Linked DNA regions of Homo sapiens: region 1 is linked to region 2. Evidence: promoter capture Hi-C in human tissues and cell types (Jung and others, 2019). All regions are on one chromosome and are shown on one strand. Each heading gives the region's core, a stretch centred on a gene start or on the middle of the fragment in contact. The rest is flanking DNA. Distances are from core to core; before and after follow the strand shown.

Evidence for each region. The method cuts DNA at HindIII sites, captures the fragments that hold promoters and counts their contacts. A contact is called where the count stands out against the background at its distance.
Region 1: a contact is called between a fragment that was not itself captured here and the fragment with the promoter of FGF20 in region 2, in 2 of the 25 tissues and cell types used here (pancreas and stomach).

Annotation. Positions count from the first base shown.
Region 1 is chr8:16,960,764-16,966,074 of GRCh38, reverse strand. No RefSeq gene overlaps it. Among named protein-coding and RNA genes, the nearest start is that of FGF20, 39 kb to the left of the region's middle. The HindIII fragment of the contact is 6,259 bases long and covers 200-5,311 here.
Region 2 is chr8:17,001,095-17,006,874 of GRCh38, reverse strand. It overlaps FGF20 (fibroblast growth factor 20), which reads left to right and starts at 4,530. Exons shown (of 3, transcript NM_019851.3): 1 at 4,530-5,128. The coding sequence starts at 4,843. RefSeq lists a silencer at 4,944-5,013. The HindIII fragment of the contact is 12,794 bases long and covers 1-5,780 here.

The DNA of each region.
Region 1 (5,311 bases), core at 2,080-4,579, 40 kb after region 2:
AATGAAGTGCCAAGAGCAGCCATAGTTATAGCTTAATGAGACTTCTGCTATGTCCACTGGAAGAAGTATTCCCCTTTGGGTACCAGGACCTTCAATGCTGCAGGACTGAAGGGGCGGGAGGTACGAATTCCACAAGTGATATTTAGAGTGATGGCAAACAGGGATATGTCTCCCTACATTTCTCAGTTCCTTCTTACTGGGGACACTGCACGACATAGAAATCTTTGAACTGTGGTATATGCTGCATTCTGGAGAATGTTCCATCATTTTCGTAAAGTATCACCTCTGAGCTGGTGTTTCCATGATCCTGTCACCAGGTTATTGCAATATTGTATCAGAATAGCAGCTTCTAGATGGGTTAGAGCTTGTTGTTACTGATGCATTTCTCTGTTATGGGCCTGCTCCCATATCTACTCTGCTGTATGTGGGACCCTGTGTGGGTGGAACAGGCACTCTGTGGGCAAGAAAGGGAAATCCATACCCAAAAGTTCTATTTCTTCTGTGATTGATCAGAATCAGTCACAGATCTTTTTAGGATAGAAGGGGAGCAGTGTAGACAACTTGCGGTCAAGTGGCTAGACAGTATCCTTGAGGAATGATCTCACATCATGGACTTGGCATTGGATTTTGTTCCTAGCAGACTGGACATTCAGAGGCAGCAGAAGTGAGATTCATCAGGAAAAGTGGCAGCCCATGCTGCTGTGCTGATGTCTAACCTCTGTCTCTATCACCATGACCACTTTTTAATGTGTCCGTTTTTCCAGCACTGGAATGGCCAAAGCCAGGCTGGCTAGTGTCAACTGGCTGAGGCATTTAATCTACTTCTTTGTTAAGTGCCTCTTCCATGGTGGGAGCTCTTGGATTGGTGTTAACTTTTAATATGAAGATTTTCCCACTTTATGCCCATTCCTATTTATCCATATATATAGTAAGGCTTGGTATCCATGGGAGATTTGTTCCAGGACCCCCATAGATACCAAAATCTGTGGATGCTCAAGTCTCTTTTATAAAATGGCATAATATTTGCATATAACCTACGCACATTTTTTCCTGTATACTATAAAACATATCTAGATTATTTACAATACCTAACACAATGCCTATACCTTACTTCATTCGAGTGAATTCAACCTAGTACTCACTGCATGACAAAATTCAAATTTTAATTTTTGGAAAGTTGTGGCATTTTTTTCCCCCTCAACATTTTTGATCCAAGGTTGTTTGAATCCACAGATGTAGAACCCTCAGATACAGAGGGCCGACTGTATTCCTTTCTGCCAGACCATTTTGTCTTCGATCTTCCAATCTTTCTTTTTTTCTAGGATTTTACCAGCTAGCCATTCCATTTGCCACTGCCCAGGAGTCCTTATATGTTCTAATCTCAGACTACTTCTTTTATTACCCAAAGGGGATGGCAAATGTACTGCCCCAAACTTTGTCAATTGAAATAATTGTCTGTGAGTTAGACTGTAGTGCCTTATATCCACATACTGAGCTGACCTGTCTGTAAACCAGTCTTGGGCACTTTGATCATCTGTCAGCTAGTCCTCAGGGATTCCCCTGCTGGGCCATAGGAGTGAGATGAGGAAGAGGTGTTGGCGCAACAGTGGTGCATGACATGCAGGCTGAGCCTAGCTGAGCTGGTGGATATGATAGCATTAAGGTCAACATGGAAAATTCTAGCCACATGGTCACATGGTGTCCCATAGTCTGGCTCTCAATTTGTGTGATGGCTCAGTAACACGCCATGAGTTGCATTTCAAAAGGTGTACATTCTCCATTGCAAGCTATGTGACCTTGCTCTAGTATCCCAGGAGCCTGTGATGTGATTTTCCCACTGGGACTTCCCATAAATTCCACATGATATCTTTCCCAACCACTGATATCTCTAATATAAGAGGATCTCATGGCTCAAGCGGTAGGGCACAGCTTGATCCTTACAAACAGTCCTGAAATGTCTTTGGCTTGATTTTATTTTAACTCTGTTACTCTTTTAGCACCATTTCCAAGAGCTGTGAATAAGGATCTGAGCAAAGTGACTTCACAGGACAGAAGCTTTAGCTGAGCTGTCAGGTGAGACACCTGATATGGATTCTGGGGAGGGCTGTGTTTACTCTGTAGTTTCTGGAGGATACTATCTGCTGTCCTTAATAGACGAGTTGCTTATGTCCATAATGGGAATCCTGGTGGTGGTGGTAGGGCTGGTGTTAGAGTATGTGTATATATGTTTACTAAAATTGGAGTTGAGAGGGAAATACAGAAGAATAGCATAGAGGGATAGTAAAAGTCCTTCAAACTGGCTTCCTTTTTAAGCTAAGAAGGGGTAATGAGTTACCCTTTTGTATTTCCACTCCTCAGAGAGGCAAAAATGACCCCAGGTCTCCTACTACACCAAAATGGTAAAACATGGGAATAACATATACTGTTACTTTTCCTTGTTAGAAAAGAAAAATATGAAGTATTTATTCTAAAATCACAAATATTAGAATTTTTCGAGCTTGAGGACATCTTAGCTATCATCTCGTTCAATCTCTTCATTTTACAAATGAGGAAAATCTTTTATGGACTGTTCAATAAAACCATGAAACAGTTTTTTGTTTATAAGTTAGTAAGTGTATCCATATGCTTTTATACGGTTCTTTTATGATTTTGGCTAGCAATGATGAAATTAGCATGTTTTGATCTCTGTGCAACTTGTTCAGAAAGAACTTAAAAGAAGTATTTAGGAAAATCCAAGTGCTGAAACATTTAAGATATGCTTTGTGGTCTCAATTTTGTGTGATTGTCAGCCAGGAAGTTTTCTGATTGAGATGGCTTGCCAATTCCCTGCCAAATACATTATTTATTACACTAGTGGGGATTTCCTATTTGGGATGTTAAAGATAAAAATCTTACTGATAATATTTCCCATAAAATAATTGATGTAGGTCAATTGATACATTCTAATAAATTAAAATCAAGAACAAGACAGAGGTCCATAAAGACCTATAGGTATTTTATTGGCATATACTTATTCAAATATACCAGATTTAGTCATATTAAAGATTTCTGATTCACCGTTGACAGTGAAACTTGAAACTGAATGTAACTGAATTTATATTTCTTTTCTTAGATCTATTTCTTTGTAAGAATGAAATAACTTTTAGCAAGGACTGAATGTTGTTGGATTAAAGTGGCAGTTATGATACCATGGTGATGTATACGAAATTTTATAATTTCACGAGTTCGCTAAATTATAGGGAGACTTCTGCATCCTCGTGTGTTTCTGTGTATGTGTACATGTGTTTGTGTATGTGTACATGTGTATGTGTATGTATATGTGTATGTGTGCTTACAGTGATAACACCAAAGGGAGATGGGTTTCAAGCATCTAGTAAAGAATAAATACATGTAGGTAATTAAATTAACATATACTCTAAATTACACCTGGTTTTAACCAGGTAGCAAAAACATATATATTTTTTTTAAGAGGTAGTCTCATGCTTTCACTCAAGCTGGAGAGCAATGGCAAGATCATGGCTTACTGCAGGCTTGATCTCCTGGACTCAAGCAATCCTTCCACCTCAGCCTCCTGAGTAGGTAATAGCTGGTACTACAGGTACACACCACCAAGCTAAATTTTAAAAGTGATTTGTTGAAATGGGGTCTCTGTTTTGTTGCCTAGGCTGGTCTTGAAGTCCTGGCTTTAAGCCAGGGTGTCCAATCTTTTGGCTTCCCTGGGCCACATTGGAAGAAGAATTGTCTTGGGCCACACATAGAACAAACGAATGATAGCTGGTGAGCTAAAAAAAGAAAATCGCAAAAAAATCTCATAATGTTTTAAGAAAGTTTATGAATTTGTGTTGGGCCGCATTCAAAGCTGTCCTGGGCTTTATTCAAAGCCGTCCCGGGATGCATGCAGCCCGTGGGTTGTGGGTTGCTTTAAGTGATCCTCTTGCCTTGGCTTCCCGAAGTTCTGGGATTACATACATGGGCCACCAGCACTGGCCTGGAAAAGATTTTAATAATTACACATTTGTAATTTATTTGTAAAATTAAAATAAATTTTAAAATTGCAGTTTGTGGTCAGTGCTATGAAGGAAAAGAACAAGACTGTAAGAAAGATCAGCTGAGCGAGGTGGCTCACACCTCTAATAGAAGAACTTTGGGAGGCCGAGGAGGGCAGATCACCTGAGGTCAGGAGTTCGAGACCAGCCTAACCAACATGGAGAAACCCCATCTCTATTAAAATACAAAAAATTAGCCAGGTGTGGTGGCGCATGCCTGTAATCCCAGCTACTGTGGAGACTGAGGTAGGAGAATCACTTGAACCTGGGAGGCAGATGTTGCAGCGAGCCAAGATTGTGCCATTGCACTCCACCCTGGGCAACAAGAGCAAAACTCCATCTCAAAAAAAAAAAAAAAAAAAAAAAAGAAAAGAAAGATCACAGAGGCGTCTCCTTTAGTTGAGACAATCAGAAAAGGAAAGAAAAGATCTTTCTGAAGAATGAATAGGAGTTGAAAACAGAGTTTGTGCAGTTTGGATGTGGGAGGCAGGGTGTGTATAGACAGCGATCTAGACGATAGGATGATAAAGATCTTGCAGTTGGAAAACAGTGTGACATGTTCCAAAAACTAAAAGAAGGCCAGATGGCTAAATAGGTAGTGGGGCCAGCATAGCATGAGATGAAATTGAAGAGATTGACATGGACGGGCCATATCATGACAACCCCTATGGGCCACAGTGAGTTATTTGAGTCTCTTTTTAGTGCAATGGAAAGTCATAGAAGGATTTTAAGCAGGAGAGTGACACCATTTCATCTATACATTTAAAAGACCACATTGGTGCAGGATCTGTGGCTCATCCCTGTAAACCCAGCACTTTGGGAGGCTGAGGTAGGAGGATCGCTTGAGCCCAGGAGTTCAAAACCAGCCTGGGCAACATGGTGAAACTCCATCCCTATAAAAAAAAATACAAAAGTTAGCTGGGCATGGTGGTGCATGCCTGTAGTCTCAGCTACTTGGGAGGCTGAGGCAGGAGAACTCATTGAACTCAGAAGTTCTGGGTTGCAGTGAGCGGAGATCACGCCACTGTATTTCAGCCTGGGCAAAAGAGCCAGACTGTATCTCAAACAACAAAAACAAAAACAATAACAACAACAAAACCCCAAAAAACACATTGGCTGCAAAATAAACATTGGGTTAGACTGAGGTAAAAGTGGAAGAAAATAGAAATTGTTTGGAGAAAATTGCGTTAGCCTAGGTGAAAGAGTTGCAACAGTTTGGACTGGCATGTTGGCTATGAGAAGGGAGAGTAATGGGTGGACTTGGG
Region 2 (5,780 bases), core at 3,281-5,780:
AAACTTTTATCCACAAGTTTTAGGATGCATTTATGTTTTTGTCTGGACCAGCAATGACCCTAGGATGGATGTAAAGTGGTCATTTTTCTAATTCCATCATTCTTTCAATATTTATTAGTTGGTATTCTGCCATGAGAAAAAGTTTTCCCTTCTCCCTTATTAACTTGTTTGATTGGTAGTTTGTGTACTTCAACAGTTGCACTCACATGTTCTTATTTATTTCATAAATAACTTGTTCCTATCATTATTTATTTTGATGCTCAAATTGTCCCAGATTTGGCTTATGTCCCCTGGACATGTCCTTATTCTTTTTTTTTTTTTTTTTTTTTTTAGTACTTCCTTGCCTTCTGGCACACAAAATAATGCCCCAGTCCTGGAACCAGACATTTCTCCAAGGTTCCATTGATCATTTTAGTAGGAGTTTGAATTGAGAAACCAAGGCTTAGATGCTAGATATGCTCATTGACTTGGGATATGTTTGCTTCTAGGCCCTTTTAGTGCACAGGGCTAAGATATGCACATACACATGAACATACACACACACACAGGCACCAAGTGTTAATACTGATAGCGGCAATTCCAATTTCACACTACAAGGTTCATTCCAGTCTTCCTTCTTTTCATATTAGAACTCTATTCTTTAATAATGAAACCCCTAGCTCTCATTAGCTTCAATATATTTATTCATTTGTTCAATTCTACAATACACTACTCTAACCCCTGCTACTGAGGAAAACAATCTTTCTCATTGAAGTTCAAGATTTGTTTATGTGGTTTTTCTTTAGATCTTGGTTATATCATCAAAAGACAGAATTTGATAGTTATTTGAGTTTCTTTCTTTCTTTTTTTTAATATGTTATTCATCCCTCATGTGTGGTTATATTACTCACTTTAATACAGTTAGGTTCATTTGTTCCTGCTTTTATTCCATCCCCACTTCTCTCTCATTTATTTTATTTTATTTTACTTTAAAAAAATGTAAAACATTAACATTTCTCCAAAAGTCAAAACTCTATAAAAAGTTCTCAGATGAATGTCACTCCTCCAACCCTTCCACTCCATTCATATCCATCCCCTGCTAACCAACTAACCAGGTAACCAAGTTCATTAATTTTTGGTTTATCCATTCTGTGTTTATTTTTAGAATAAATAAGCATATACATGTAGACGTTTCTCATTTTTTTCTTTCTTACAGAAAAGGCAGACACTATATATATTCTTTGCTGTTTTCACTTAACGGTGTATCCTGCAAATATTCCATGTTCGTTCACAGACATCTTTGTCAGCTGTATAATGCTCCATTGTGTGAATGTACCATAATTTATTCAGTTTCCTGTGTATAGAAATTTATGTTGTTGCTAATATTTTGTAATTATAAATAATGAATAATGTGCAAATATACTCTTACTTTATTGGAGATGTATATCATGACCATTAAATCAGCTCTATTTCTTTTTCTCATATTGAACACATGTAGCAGCCTCAAAAGGTATGAACTCCTCATGTGTAAAAACAAAGGTTCCTGACAATATATCATCTGAAAACCTATATAGGGATTATATAGTCTGGAAAACTCAAACTACATTTTGTGGAAGTAGAAGTTGTACCACGTATTTGTATAACAGCAAGGCAAGTGTGGTCTCTAGGAAGCATAGGTAAAGTTGATTAGATTGCAATGTATACTTAAAAGTTGAATAATGCACTCTTGTAAAACACTCTTCAAAATTATTTAACTTCCCATGATATCATCACAGCATGTGCAAAAAAAAAAAATCTTTAGTGTTATCTTTTCCTGTCACATGACTAGTGCAAACAAAAGAAATTCTTATCTTTTTGTTTCTAGTCTGGTCCTTTATAAAACAGCATTAAGCACCATTCAAACTTACACATTAAAGGTTTGGTTTGGGAAAAAAAGATTTATTTTGTATTTCAGACCAATTATATTTGTTAAGTTAGAAAGCAAAAATTTTCACAACAACTAGAGTTTTCTAGCATATTCTATGCATAGAAAACTATAGTTTTAAAACCATTTTCCAATATATTTTTACATTTAAGTCTCATGGCAACTCTAGGCATAGTAGTTAGGCTGGAGTTATATTATCCTTATTTTACAAAAGAGAAAATAAAAGCATTTAGAGAATTTAAGGAAATTGGCCTGGGATGTTGGACTCTGGGCAAAACGGGGATTTAGGACCATATTTTTTCGCTATAAAGCAGGATGTGCCTATGTCTTATGGTCATTGTGGTGATCAAATAAGGTAATACACATGTAAATACCAAGGTGTACAAAGAGAAGGCGATTCTATTATGAAAGTATTTAAACTTTCATGACTATGAATAAGAAATTCCCCATTTTTTGTATATATATAAGCAATACAACAGATTTGAACAGTCTAACAGCTATAGCTCATACAGCAGGACTAAAGTGTTCATGTGGGAAAATAGTTTGTAGACTGAACTAGTACTTTTAGAAGCAGGTGATGATAATATATTTCCATTGTGGAATAATTAACAGCATTATATGTTGCACAGAACTTGGACCTTGAAACAAACCTCATTAAAAGGCACTTGATCTAAGTTTAAAACCCTTAAGTATCTCCTCTTTAAAAGTGATCAGTGGATGTACTGGCTACTTCAGTTATCCTGCTACGAGATTCACACAACTTTGATCTAAGTTTCTTTGATTTAACACTGCAATTAAGAAGATTTGGTTCAAAGTAAAAGCTCATTGGTTGATGTTTTACACTGATGTGATAATGTTTACACAGATGTGTTTGAAACCTTGATTATGGTGGATTTGGGGTCCTACCACAAGACAGACTGCTGTTATTTGAAAGGTGAAATAATACAACATTTACCTGGTGCAACCTTTAAAACAGACTTAGCAATATACGTTTCTAAAGTGATTTATCTGTTTATTGTTTTTAGCCAGCGTTTTTGTTTTATTTCATATCTATCAACAGTAAATCACTTGCTTTAAGAACTCTTTTATAACTTGGTTACACAAGGGTCAGTAGTTAGGCCTGTAGTGATGAAAATGTGTAACTATACCCACTTTAGAGCACCTGCCAATTAATTAGAAAAAATCCTTCAGAGCAAATAAAATAAACCAGTCAAATCCAACTGAGCTGCCAGGCTTATGCTTTTTTTAAACAGATCATGAAACAAGACTGAGAAAGTAATCTTCATCAGTTCCCTAAAACTTTTTGCTCAGAGGAAGCATAAATCTGCCCAATGATTCTCAATTCTTCTACCACTGAAAAATTTTAACAGAAAGATCTTGAATTTAACTAGTGGTGCAAAACCAGTTTCAACGTTTAAATGAACATGTATCTAATTCCTTGGCTTCCATGGTTTTTGATTTTACAAATATGCTCAAGCACTCTTCAATTTTACCAGTAACTTTTGAAGTCTCAAAACACATCAAGCCTCAAGACTATTTCCATTTAGTTATTTTTAGATTTTATAATTAAAATGTAAACAAAAACATCTAGCTTTTAGAAAAACGCAACTAAGAAAAACAGGAAAGTGCTCTTAGATTGTATAAGGGCCCAAGAAGCCACTCATCATTTATGACAATATTCCAGATATTCATTTTCTATTCACGGCAAAATATAGAGATGCAAATCATTTCTTTCCAGCCTATTTGGATTTACTGTAAATCCTTTGATTCGTGATTATATTTTGCTTTATTTTACACTAATTAGAAGTTCATGACCTTAGCACACAATTAAAAATACATATGTGTATTATGTATATATATATATGGCAATTTTGGTTATATTATGTGCTGAGTAAAGGTAAACATTAAAGAGAAATTGTAAAGAGGGGGAGGGAGGGTGTTCCTTACCTAACCTTGATTATGTAAAGAAAATCCCCCATCTAAATGATAAAAGAAAGGAGCAATGCTTGTACATTTTATTAGTGTTTTAAAATTAGTGAGTTAAACTGTCAAAGCTTTGATTTTTCTTTCATGTGTGTCTGGGCAGGTCTGTAAGCCCCAGGTAACGCCCTTTTTCCTTCTCCCTTGCTTACCTTTCTTTGCACCTGTCCACTGCAGGCTCCCAAGGAGTCCAATTCTCCTTTTCTCTTTCCTCCTCCTACCAATGCCCTCCTTCTCTTTCTCTCCCTCCCCGCCTTCCCTCCCTCCTCCCTTCCTCTTCTTCTATATCCCTGCCAAGTTGGGCTCCTTTTAGAGGCGATTTATCACTGCAAAGCTCACATCAAAGACGGTTGCACGGCCGCAGCTGAACAGCATCACCGCTGTCCCAAGGACAACCCCAAAGAGGGGCCTCGACTGCACCTCCTCGAAGTTGCTGGCTGGCTTTGGCCAAGTGCAGGAATGGTTTTTGTGAGGGCATGGATGGAGAAGTGCCAAGGGCCCCTTTTGGTCACTTCCGAAGAGCAAAAACGTGTTGAGAGGAGACCGGTTTAAGATTTCAAACAGAACCTCCCCAGCGCGCATGAAAGGACTTGATTAGCATATGTCAAGAGGACCCGCTTATATACTCGGTGTGTATGTACACAGGACTCTGATCTGATCAGTTTGCGGAATTGGAGCCCCAGCCAACAGCCCTAGTCCTAGTATTGGCAGCGGCAGCTATAGATATTTCTGCAGAGCCAGCAGCCGGCTCCCACCTACCCAAGGAGAGAAGATCGCTCCAAGACAGTGAGAGCTTCCCTGCCATTTCAGTGCAAAGTCCCTCCGGAGCGACCTCAGAGGAGTAACCGGGCCTTAACTTTTTGCGCTCGTTTTGCTATAATTTTTCTCTATCCACCTCCATCCCACCCCCACAACACTCTTTACTGGGGGGGTCTTTTGTGTTCCGGATCTCCCCCTCCATGGCTCCCTTAGCCGAAGTCGGGGGCTTTCTGGGCGGCCTGGAGGGCTTGGGCCAGCAGGTGGGTTCGCATTTCCTGTTGCCTCCTGCCGGGGAGCGGCCGCCGCTGCTGGGCGAGCGCAGGAGCGCGGCGGAGCGGAGCGCGCGCGGCGGGCCGGGGGCTGCGCAGCTGGCGCACCTGCACGGCATCCTGCGCCGCCGGCAGCTCTATTGCCGCACCGGCTTCCACCTGCAGATCCTGCCCGACGGCAGCGTGCAGGGCACCCGGCAGGACCACAGCCTCTTCGGTACGTACTAGCATCCCGACCCCACCCCCATCTGCGCCCCAGCTCGGCTCCTCGTTCCCTCCCCTTGCACCTCCCTCTTTGCCTGCCAAGGGCGTCATCGCCGCGCGGAGCCCGGAGCTCCCCTGGACCCATCCGGTGCAAGACGCAGGCTGGGGCTGAAGGGCTGGCCAGAGCAGCCGCGGGGAGAAATTTTCCTGCTGGTTTGTCGCCGCAGCCTCTAGCAGGGCAGCAGCTCCAGATGCTGGGGGCGGGAGGAGAAAGGGTGGGCGCTTCGCAAGCTCCTTCCTGCCTTCCCCTTGCCCTTCCCACTGCCGGGGACACCAAGACCTGGTGCACTCGGCATCACGGTTCTCGCACTGCTTACCTCGCAGTCAGTTTTAAAAAAAATCCCTGTATGTTTCTCTCCGATTTCCTTTCTCATTTTCCCCCATGCCGTCCACTTTACAAAAATTAATAACAGGAAGCGCCGGGCTTCTTTAAACATGCCCCACAGTTATGCAGCTGATTATGCACCCGGGGCTGCTCTGGGCATGGATTGCGAGCATTTACGTGTCTACCTAGAGACTTGCAAATGTTCACCTGAAGAGGTAGCAGATTAACTTTCCGTGGGCACATTCGCTACCTGTAGGGCTCACCTGTCTGAGGTTCCCTC